2 separate regions of the Homo sapiens genome follow, and region 1 is linked to region 2. Evidence: promoter capture Hi-C in 16 types of primary human blood cells and fetal thymus (Javierre and others, 2016). All regions are on one chromosome and are shown on one strand. Each heading gives the region's core, a stretch centred on a gene start or on the middle of the fragment in contact. The rest is flanking DNA. Distances are from core to core; before and after follow the strand shown.

Evidence for each region. Contacts are between HindIII fragments. The CHiCAGO score rates a contact against its expected background, and 5 or more counts as called.
Region 1: a contact is called between a fragment that was not itself captured here and the fragment with the promoter of SLK in region 2, in 1 of 17 cell types (activated CD4 T cells). The highest score is 5.0, in activated CD4 T cells.

The regions. Positions count from the first base shown.
Region 1 is chr10:104,074,832-104,080,559 of GRCh38, reverse strand. It overlaps COL17A1 (collagen type XVII alpha 1 chain), which reads left to right. Exons shown (of 56, transcript NM_000494.4): 3 at 1,974-2,018; 4 at 3,034-3,138; 5 at 4,131-4,259. Among named protein-coding and RNA genes, the nearest start is that of COL17A1, 8.2 kb to the left of the region's middle. The HindIII fragment of the contact is 3,859 bases long and covers 2,421-5,728 here.
Region 2 is chr10:103,963,055-103,969,226 of GRCh38, reverse strand. It overlaps SLK (STE20 like kinase), which reads right to left and starts at 2,087. Exons shown (of 19, transcript NM_014720.4): 1 at 1,332-2,087. The coding sequence starts at 1,481. LOC102724351 (a long non-coding RNA gene) reads left to right here and starts at 2,182. Exons shown (of 5, transcript XR_007062282.1): 1 at 2,182-3,446. RefSeq lists silencers at 1,566-1,665, 1,676-1,725, 1,766-2,225. The HindIII fragment of the contact is 5,644 bases long and covers 1-5,251 here.

The DNA.
Region 1 (5,728 bases), core at 3,101-5,600, 110 kb before region 2:
CAGAATAAGTAATTCATTAATAATTCTACCACAACCACTGTATCATGTTTAAGTGTGTTCCTAAATGGACTTTAATCCTTCTCATAAGACAGCTCTTGTTGATTTTTATGTCAAAAGATATCCTGCTTTTTCTTGAATGATGAAGGTTGTCATTTCCATGTACAGTATTTATAACCCTCATTTTTAATGATGGGATAGGATTCTGCTAAATGAATTCACCATAGTTTATTTTATCATTTCCAAATTTAGGGGTACAGGGCAACAGAAATCTAAACGAATAACATCCTAGTTATTGTATCATAGTTGACCTCTACGCTGAAAATTGAAAACAAATAAATTTATTTTGTGGAACTGCCCAAATAATAAATTCAGAAACATTTAAACTCTCCTCCTACCAACTCTAAGTCAGGAAACTCTTTCACTTATTCTGTGACTTTCATATATCTCCAATAAAAAAAAAATTCTGGCTCCATAGACTTGAAAGTTTTAGTTAGGAAATAATTCACTTTTATGTGTCAAAGAATCCCAAAGGTCTATACAATGAGAGGTTCTATACAATGAAAGCTGAAGGACTATTATTCAAATCAAGCTGCCACTGCACTCTACAAAAACATTTCCTTTTTTTTTTTTTTTGAGACGGAGTCTTGCTCTGTTGCCCAGGCTGGAGTGCAGTGGCGTAATCTTGGCTCACTGCAACCTCCACCTCCCAGGTTCAAGCCATTCTCCTGTCTCAGCCTCCCGAGCAGCTGGGATTACAGGTGCCCACCACCACACCCAGCTAATTTTTTGTGTTTTTAGTAGAGACGGGGTTTCACTATGTTGGCCAGGCTGGTCTCAAACTCCTGACCTCGTGATCTGCCCGCCTCGGCCTCCCAAAGTGTTGGGATTACAGGCGTGAGCCACTGCGCCCAGCCAACATTTCCTTTTATGCATTAAGTACTGTTTCTGGCATGTCCATAACCGCATCTTCTTGCTAGGACAACCAAACTAATTAGCAAAATGCAGTATGAAGAAGGACAGTGTGAATGAGAGTCATGTGGGATGGAGCAGGTGTCAGCGGCACAGCTGAAAGTAGCACAAAATGATCCTGCACCATCTTCCTTTACTCTTTTCTCCTTTCACCACCTTCCCCACACGTATGTGCCCATGCATGCCACACACACACACACATACATGCACACATACACACATGCATGCATGCATACAAGCACACTGGAAACCTGATATCAAAGAACAAAAGCCCCAGATAGGTAGGGTCTTCTGTATACCCACCAGAGACGGAGGTAGTGCTGAGGGCCACAGTCAGAGCATGAGTGATGGATTCACCATCTCTCAGACCTACAGGAACTAAATTTCAGAGGCCAAGGGACTGGTTCTTCAAGTCTGTCTGTGATGTGCCTGGATCACTGATTTTGCCAAACCCCAAATGTGACTTACCAGGAGCACCCTTCCTTCCCACAACTCCCCACATTCAGGGGTTGCCCTGAAGACATTAGAACGAAACATAATGTTCTTAAACACCTCCAAATTCATGAAGAAGTACACAGTGAAGTCAGCTAGGGTGTTGGTCTCAGCTGAACTGAGAGACCATGGGGAAGGAGAAATGCAGAGAAACGGAGTGACTTGAGACAAGAGGGCCTGGTCCTCCTTCAACCTCAGACCAGGCCTGGACTGGATCTAATTGTCCAAGGAGAGACATCAACAGCAAAACAACTCATGTTTCAAACGCAGTGCATAACTTCTTTTGGCTCCAAAGAGATATAAACTTATTTTCCAAGCATATGAAACCCATTGTTGTTGCTCATATCTTTTTGCACAGTGGGTCAGATCACACACCTTAAAGCACAAGGATAGAAAAATCAATGTCGAACCTAATTTAATATGCTTAGCCTGTGACAGAGCTTAGACCTTGCCAAGATCCAGAGGTGTCAGTGCATTACATAAGAACTCATCTTTTCTTTGTCTTTTTCTAGTTGTCACTGAAACAGTAACCACAAGACTTACATCCTTACCACCAAGTAAGTAACTACCTCAATAGCTTTCTTTTCAGTAGGTCACATTTGAAGGGCCCCACACCTGTAACCTTTTCCATGGGAGCTCCAAAATTTTTGACATCTTTTTTAACAGCTATATTGACATTAATTTCTATACAACAGAATTCGCCAGTTTGAAGTGTATAATTCAGTGATTGCTAGTATATTTACCAAGTTATGCAGCCATGGTTACAGTCCAATTTTAGAAGATTTCCATGGCTCCACAAAAAGAAGTGACCATTAGCAGTCATTCCTCATTCTCCCTCCTCTCTCCTCAGCCCCTGGAAACCACAAATCTACTGTCTCTGTAGATTTGCCTATTCCAGATGCTAAAATATTGGATATCTGATCTAACCTGAACAAGGATTGGGGGCTACCAGTCAAGCTTCTGGTTGAGGCTACTTTTTTTTCCAGGAGCTCCTATCACTCCTGTAATATTGATCTGAGCCCAAAAGCTACCCCCTGCCCCCGCCTCCAGGGAGCCTAGTTCCCTGGGGATGGGGAGAGCCCACCCACCAGCAGGTGAAGTCGGAGCAGTGATGGGCTGCCAGGTGGAACACCAGCAACACAGAGCTGCCACACGCCCCTCCAGCACTTCTAGTGGCTGCCATGCCTGGGCACTGACCAGGCACTCAGAAAAAGCAAGCCCAACCAGGTCCTGGACTCAAGGAGCTTTCATCGCTCAGCCTTTTCTACTATTTAAAATTTCCTAATATGCAACTTGCTATATTCCACCCAGGAGACTTTTCTTTTAAATCAGGTGGAATACTCACTCTAGATATTTGTATAAAACAAAACAAAACAAAACAAAACAAAACAAAACAAAAAACCAACGAAACTGGAGCATGGCAGCTTGCATCTTATAATGTAGGTGGGAAAGGAACCCCAAACTAAGAAGGTCCTGGTGAAAAACCAGGGAAGCCTTCCACAGGGTGGGGGACCAGGGGATCCTCTGGCCTGACTCCACCCTGAAATTATCACCTGCTTTTGTTCCTGGCAGAAGGCGGGACCAGCAATGGCTATGCTAAAACAGCCTCTCTTGGTGGAGGGAGCCGGCTGGAGAAACAAAGCCTGACTCATGGCAGCAGCGGCTACATAAACTCAAGTGAGTGCCCACTAGTGCAAGAGGTCAGGGAAGAATGGGTGACAAAGAGAGAGACACCAAGAAAGTCCTACACAGGACACAGGGCAGACACAATTTTGAATCAGTGCACAAAAGGGACAATTACAATCACCTGTCATCCATTCCAAATCCCCCTGAGAGTTATCTAAATAACACACAGCTATTGGGCAGCAGGGCTGGAGACCGGGGGTGCAAATTATAAATCATCAGCATTTGAAGCCTACTTAAAATCAGATCCATTTTCATTAAGTCCACAATATAAATAACTATCATTAATTAAGACTTCATGGGTAGGTAGCTATTTCCTCACTAAATCACTCCCTTTAAGCCATCTCTTTAGAGAACAATGTGCACGCCTGAGGGTTTACAATTTGAATTAACAACGAAAGAAACTTAACGATTGGGTTACTGTGCTAAGGGAAGCTGGTGACATGTGATCCCATGCTGTGCAAGATTCCACTGGGCAAGCATCCAACACAGGCCCATTGTTCCCAGTGAAGCACTCTTTCAAACTAAAACAAAACAAAGCAAAGCAAGGCAAAAACAAAACAAAAACAAGAAGCACCCAGATAGCCCCTGAAGCCATTTAAAATACTTGGAAGTAAGACTAAAAAGGAAGCCCCAAGACATTAGAACAGCCAGGTTGACCAAAAGAAACACCTGCCCTTACCTGTTGAGGCACACTTCCACGCTGGATTATATTCTAGTCCATCCAAGCAGTGTCTACAAGAAAAATCCTGCCAAATCCTTTCCATTTCCATGCATGGTAACCATGCACAGGAAGGACGTTCCCAGGCAATAATTCCACCTTTCCATTTGTGAACAGCTGGGGGAATGCTGAGGTGGCCCCTTTCAGCTGTGCCCTCCCGAAGACCCTCCCTGAGTGTACTTGGTTAATATAGCTGGGTCACAGTAGCCATTTGGTTCACCTCTCTGCTGAAGCACTGAGAACTTATGCTTTTTCCCTCTTGCAGCTGGAAGCACACGAGGCCATGCCTCCACCTCTAGTTACAGGAGGGCTCACTCACCTGCCTCCACTCTGCCCAACTCCCCAGGCTCAACCTTTGAAAGGAAAACTCACGTTACCCGCCATGCGTATGAAGGTATCAGTCCCACTAACCATACAAGAGAACCATTCTCTTCCCCAAGCAACTTCACTCATTCTTTGAAGATTTACATGCTGGCCACCTGTGTCTGCCCTTCACCTTTCTCCCCACTCCTCCTTCATTTCTTTTATGGACTTCCATTACTTGAAGACTTCATTCATTCATTCACTACCTCATTTATTTATTCATTCACCCATTTAGTTACTTTTCCAACTAGTATTTTATCCAGTACCTGCTATGCGTTTAACACTGTGTAGAATGCCTTGACGAATGCTTAAATGAATCAGACATAGATCTTGTCTTCAGGACCTGTAGTCTAATAGACAAGTTAAGATGACAGATAAAATACAATTGTATAAAGTAGATGGAGATTATCACTTTAAGCTGAGGAAATCGGGGAAAATTCTATGGAGGAGGGGACATCTGAGCGAGGTCCTCATGACGAGTAAGAGTTTGATACCCAAAGATGGAGAGATGGGACTGTCCAAGCTGTGGGAGCAGCAGCATAAGCAAAGACAGCCAGGAGAGCCCAGGGCTTAAGTCGGAAATTCAGTGGTACTTACGTGCAAAAGGTTTGAGGGACTCAGATTCAGTGCTAGGATAAGATGTTTAGACTTTATTCCATATGCAATGGGAAGCCACAGAGAGTTTTTAGCAAAACAATCATATTTTAGGTCCAGGACTGGAACTCTGGAAGCCATGTGTTGGAAAAATTGGTGAGAAAGAGACTAAACACAGTGACAAGTTAAAAAGAAATCCTCGGTCATCCAGAGAAGGGACATTTTGGCTGGGACCAGGTTGGTAATGATGGAGGTCAGGAGCTAGAAGTGAAAGTTATCACTGAGGTGGAATTGACAGGTTTGGCAATTGATTAAATGTAAGGAGAAGGCTTCACACACAGGTTGGGTTCTTGGTGGTGCCAACAACTGAAACAGGGAATTAGATGGATGACTCCACTTGATGAATCCAGCTAATTCATCCTGAAGCACAGCCACTTGCCCAGCTCTCTGGCGAGGGTAGCAAGCAGGCAGTGGGTGATGCAGGATTTGAGTTCAGGGAAGAAGTCAGGGCCCAGATACCCAGGTGGAAGCCATTCGCAAAGAGGTGTTAGAGGAAGTCAGAAGACTAAAGGAGTTTGCCAAGAAAGAGAGTATAAAAGTTGAAGGAAGCAAAGGAAGGTAAAGCGGAGGGAATAAGGAGAAAGAAAAGCCAGAGAACAGAGAGAGGAGGAAGAGTCTTTTAGGGACAAGGGGAGACCAGGAACATACAGCAATGCTGAGGTCAACACAAGAGAGTGCTCAGGGTCAAGAAGGAGTCGTAGAAGAAGACACCTGAGTTCCATTACTAAGGTTCCTGGAGTTCCTGGTGATCTGCAGAAGCAGTTTTATGTGGGAAACTGACCAGCCAGGTGGCCAAGGAGTTTAACAGTGAGAAGAGATTGGTGCTGGTGTTGGAGAAGCAGGAGT
Region 2 (6,172 bases), core at 838-3,337:
GAGGCCGAGGCGGGCGGATCACCTGAGGTCGGGAGTTCAAGACCAGCCTGACCAACATGGAGAAACCCTGTCTCTACTAAAAATACAAAATTAGCCGGGCATGGTGGCGTATGCCTGTAAACCCAGCTACTACGGGAGGCTGAGGCAGGAGAATCGCTTGAACCCGGGAGGGGGAGGTTGCAGTGAGCCGAGATCGCGCTATTGCACTCCAGCCTGGGCAAAAGGGGCGAAACTCCGTCTCAAAAAAAAAAGAAAGTAGTAGGCAAAATGCTCTCATTTCTACCAGTGACTGTTAAAATAAAAAACAATACTAAATATGGGCTCAGAAGACCTGAGTTCAAGTCTAGGCTGAGACTCATGTGACTGTGAACAATTTCAATATCTTCATCTGTGAAATGTGGATACTAATACTGACCTGCCTACCTCACAAGATTTTTGTGGGGGCCAAATTATTTGAAAGTACTTAAAAACTTCAAAGTCCTGTATAAACATAAGTTATTTTCTTACGTTTTCACTTCTAGGCAACCCTGTGGGTCCTTCCCCTAAACGCTGTCTCATAAAAAATTCGCCCTTCAGGATGAAAATACTCCAATGACATCATTCATATGTTCCTTAGGAGATATTAAATAGTTAACATTAATGCCTTCAGGTTGAAACGCCAAGCCTCTTTCTATTGAAATAAATACATGCGTGTGTGTTTTTAACTGCTTAAGCGCTGATACTGACTTCTAGTCAATGCTTACCATAAATATATTTAAAACTAGTACCACATGAAGGTTTTTTGGAAATTTTGTCAGAAATTCCATTCTATTTTATAGTATGCTGTCAAGCAACTAACTCAAGAAGAGACTGCAAGTAGCAATCACTTTGATCCCAACTAGTTCTGTATTAGCTCTAGATACAACCAAATATATATACTGGACCCTAAAAACAGAACTGTTGGAGTACAAGCATGCACGCGAATGCAGTCAGTAGACAAATCCACTGCAAAGTGCAATGAGTTTCTCATTCTAAAATACTTGAAGGGCACAACCAGACCCCTCCTATAAATTAAAGAACACTCTCATTTCCTTTGAAGTTTGAAAGAGTAGACTTTATAACCCTGTCTCCTTTTCCAATCGCTCTTTAAACTCCATCCAGGCCCCATTTTGTTCCACCGTAAACCCGACTTCTTAGCTACTCCTTGGATGATCAGCCAAGTAAAGTTGCATCGAACCGTAACAGTCAAAAGAAGGACAGGATAAGGACCAGGGGAGCAGAAGTCCTCCCGCCACTCCAGGCCAGTGGCTGTTTTACCTTCGCAGTACAACTTCCCGTTTTCCCCCTCTTACCTTGTACACTTTCCCAAAGGCTCCGTCGCCCAGTTCTCCTATAATCTCCCAAAAGTCTTCGGGGTTCAGGTCCCTCTTCACGTGTTCGTACTGCTTCTTCTTCTTCTCGCTCCCCAACTTGAAGATCTTACGGAAATTGAAGAAGGACATTTTTCCTCCCAACACAGAGTTCCTTGCACTTAAGGACTAAAAACAATAAAAGGCAAAGTTTCTCTTCCCTGCTCTCCCGCGCGAGCCCGGCTGGCGGCGGCGGGCGCGGCGTCCCTCGGCCCCCGCAGCTCCGGCCGGGCGGTCCCGGGAGAAGGCGGGGCGGCGACCCGGGCTCCGGCCCGCGGTGGGGGTGCTGCGCGAGCGGCCCCTCCGCCGAGCCCGGCCCGCGAGCCGCGCGGTGGGCGCCTCGCCTCCGGCCCACCCTCCGGGAGCGGCACCTGCCCGCAAGCTCGCTCCCACCCGGCCTGATCCGACGGGTCCGAGCGGTCAGGACTCCCGCGGCGGCGGCTTAGGCCCGTGTCACGGCGAGTCTCCAGGGGCGGCGGCCACTCTGGGAGAGAGAAGCGGCCGGCGGCCTCGGAGGCGGGCAGTCGAGAAGCCGAGCCCTCCCGCCTCGGGCCGCGAGCCTAGGGTCTCCTCCGCCGCCGTCCGCTCCCGCGGCGCAAGGCCCGCGCGTCCCCTCGGGTCTGGGGCGCCGCCGCCGCCGCCTGTCTCCCTCCCCAGCCCACACAGCCTCGGCCTGGAGCGCGCGCCGACGCCGACTCCGTAGCGCGCCCGCGCGCTTTCCCGGCTGCGCGCCCGCCCGGTCACGCGCCCTGCTCACCGCGCGCTCGCGTGGGGGCGTCCCCTCTGGCCCCGCGCACGCGCGCTACGTCCCTCAGACTGGCTGCCCCCGAGGGTTCGCGTGAGCGGAGCACGGGGCTCGGGGTGCGGGGGGCTGGTGTGATGGACGCATTTGTTCTTCGGTCCCTGACGATTGTTTCTCATTTGCCCTCCAAGCCCCAAATCCTGTCAGTCCACGGCCTTGATGGAGCGGCCCCCGTGGGACGACCCTGTTGATTGTGCTAGCGGATGTTGTCTCCATTCTGGATCTGGGAAAAACTGTGGAGTGAAAGCCGGACCTGTTAGGGTTGGGACCTGAAAGCGGACTTTTTCGCTCTCAGACGGGCCCCAGGTACAGTGAGAGGGGAGTTTGTGTGGTGGTTGTGAGCTTGAGCTTTGGAGAGAGAGATCTGTGACCTTGGGCAGGTGACCTCTCCGAGCCTCGGTTTCCTCGCCGTAAAATGAAGATCCTAATAGTCCCTACCAGAAGGTTGTGAATGAGACAATAGATGGAAGCCCTTTGCGCGGCCCCTGCACCCGTAAACGCTCAATCTTAGTTCTTACTCTTGTTGTTTTAAGTGTGCAGGCAAGATAGACACAGATACATAAAAACTGTTTAAGACCACTTCTCTTTTTTTTCTTTCTTTCTTTTTTTTTTTTTTTTTTTTTTTTTGAGACGGAGTCTCGATCTGTCGCCCAGGCTGGAGTGCAGTGGCGCGAACTAGGCTCACCGCAAGCTCCGCCTCCCGGCTTCACGCTATTCTCCTGCCTCAGCCTCCCGAGTAGCTGGGACTACAGGCGCCCGCCACCACGCCCCGCTAATTTTTTTGTATTTTTAGTAGAGACGGGGTTTCACCGTGTTAGCCAGGATGGTCTCGATCTCCTGACCTCGTGATCCGCCCGCCTCGGCCTCCCAAAGTACTGGCGTGAGCCACCGCGCCGGGCCCCCACTTCTCAACTGATGACTGCGACACTCCCTTGAGGGTAAAACTAACTTCTGGCCACCTCCACAACTGTAAACCTGGTGTCACTCTTGGTGACTCCACCTCAGCTAAGGCCCCCACTTCCTGATCTGCCTCCAGCCCCCTTGGGCAGCACTCCCTGGTGGGGCAGTGTGGACGTTGGCTGGAATCCGTCAGGTGGTGACCTACCTTCCCCTCCTCCACCAGACGGGAGCTCTTTCAGGCCAGTGGTTTGTTGTTCATCAAGATATCCAAGTACCCGGCAACATTCCTGGCATATAATAGGAAGGCAGATCTGGTGAATGAATGAATGAATGGCGGTATCTGGAGCAGAGACAATGTATGTATATATTGCTATTTATATAATGTCTGCCCCCCCAGTCATTTTGCCCTTCAGCCCCAAAATGGCATAGCAAAACCCCCCTTCCAGTAAGACGCTTAAGATGATTCAATTCCTTGAGATCCTTCTATTTTTTTAAGTGTTATTGCAATATATTGATATACAATAAACTGTACATATTTAAAGTGTGCATTTGGTTTTTTTGCTAGTACTTGTTTGCTTTTTTTTAAAATTATACTTTAAGTTCTGGGATACACATGCAGAACGTGCAGGTTTGTTACATAGGTATACACGTGCCATGGTGGTTTGCTGCAAGTGTGCACTTTTATATGTTTTGACAAATGTATAGACCTGTGAAAACAATACTATAATTATTTGTAATTATTATCATTTATGGAGAAAATGAAATGCTTAAAAAATAAAATTAAATTAAAAGTACTATAATTCTACTATCCAGACACAACCATTGATAAGAACTTATATTTCAAAACAGGATTTTTTTGGTTGTGCATTAACTTTTTTCAACATGGTTGAGGTTGTATTACATAAAAAGGTTTGCATCCTGCACTTCGCATATTTCAATACAATTAATAATTGTTCTCTTCCATTATGAGATATTTAGATTATAATTCCTCTGTTTTTAATAAAATACGGATAAATATCTTTGTACACAAATCTTTTTCCACATATTTGATTATTTCCTTAGGATAAATTGCCAAAAGTAGATTTCGGTCAATGGGTATATGTCTGTTTCCTTATTTTGTTCTTTTCAAAATAGAAAAGACTTTACTATTTTGTCAATTAAAAGATAGTGTATTACTGGCTGGGTGGGGTGGCTCACACCTATAATCCCAGGCTGAGGTGGGAGGATTTCTTGAGCCCAGGAATTTGAGACCAGACTGGGCAACATGGCGAGATCACATCTACCAAAAATTAAAAACAGAAAAATTAGCTGGGCATGGTGGCACTCACCTGTGGTCTCAGCTACTGGGGAGGCTGAGGCAGGAGGATCACTTGGGCCCAAGAGGATGAGGCTGCAGTGAGCCATGTTTGTGCCACTGCACGTCAGCCTGGGCAACAGAGCTAGAACTTGTCTCGAAGAAAAAATAAAAATGAAAGATAGTATATTTTTGTTGTAAATAATTCAAATAATACAGAAATTATAAACTAGGAAGCTGTCTATAGTTCTGTCCTCCTTCCTTCCCCCCTACTCATAGTTACCCTCGACCTAACCACTGTTAAAAGTTAAGCCTGTGATGATGGATATGTTTATGTAATAGGCAGTGGTGATGTACAGTTATCACCCAGCTCATCTAGTTATATACATTAAGTATGAGCAGCTTATTGTATGTCAATCATAATTCAATAAGTGGTTTTTAAAAAGTCACTAGCAAAGCAAAGATAAAGTTCTGACACCATTAAGAAATAGAAATAGGCTGGGCACGGGGGCTCACACCTGTAATCCCAGCAATTTGAGAGGCTGAGGTGGGTGGATCACCTCAGGTCAGGAGTTTGAGATGAGCATGGCCAACATGGCAATACCCCGTCTCTAACAAAAATACAAAAATTAGCCGGGTGTGGTGTCATGCATCTGTAATCCCAGCTACTCGGGAGGCTGAGGCAGGAGAATCGCTTGAACCTGGGAGGCGGAGGTTGCAGTGACCTGAGATCGTGCCACTGCACTTCACCTGGGCGACAGAGCTAGACCCTGTCTCAAAAAAAAAAAAAAAGAAATAGAAATATTATCATAAATTTTTTCATATATTATGAAAAAAAGAAATGGAAATGAGCCTCTTGTAAAAGCTTTTCCTTTTAATAACATAATACATGGCCAAATAAAAAAAGTTAAGCCCATGAGCATGAGAGAATTTTGGGGGACAATAAAAAAGGGTTTTATAACTAGATTATGGTGATGATTTTACACTTAGAATGGGTGAATTATATGCTTTGTAAATTATACCTCAATAAAGCTACTTTGAAAAAGTTAGGCCTATATATGTTTTTTTCTGTGTGTATGTATGTGTATGTGTGTATATATATATATATATAAATATATATATATATATATTTTTTAAGATGAAGTTTCCGTCTGTCGCCAAGGCTGGAGTGCAGTGGTGTGATCTCGGCTCACTGCAACCTCCACCACCTGGGTTCAAGCAATTCTCCTCCTCAGCCTCTTGAGTAGCTGGGATCACAGGCGCACACCACCAAGCCCGGCTAATTTTTTGTATTTTTAGTAGAGACAGGGTTTTGCCATGTTGGCCAGGCTGGCCCTAAACTCCTGACCTCAAGTATTCTGCCCACCTCGGCCTCCCGAAGTGCTGGGATTACAGGTGTTAGCCACTGCACCTGGCCGCATGTATATCTGTTAAGATATAAAACTGGCATCATCCAATACAGATCGTTGACATCTTTCCAAGCCATCCCAAATAGATCTGTCTAATCCTTTTTTAATAGCTGCACAGAGTTCTAGTGTCTAACTATACCATAATTTATTTAAGCATTTCTGTATTGACAGGCATGACAGGCATCTAGGTAGTTTCCAATTTTTTTGTCATCATAAACAATTCCACAGTTAGTGTGCATATACAAGCATCTTTGTGTATTTGTCTGATTATATTCCCTGAAGACACAATTCAAGAAGTGGAATTGATGAGTCAAAGATCATATTAAAAATGTTTTTGCTCTGTATTGCCTAACTGGCCTCTAAAAAGATTGGTGGCCAA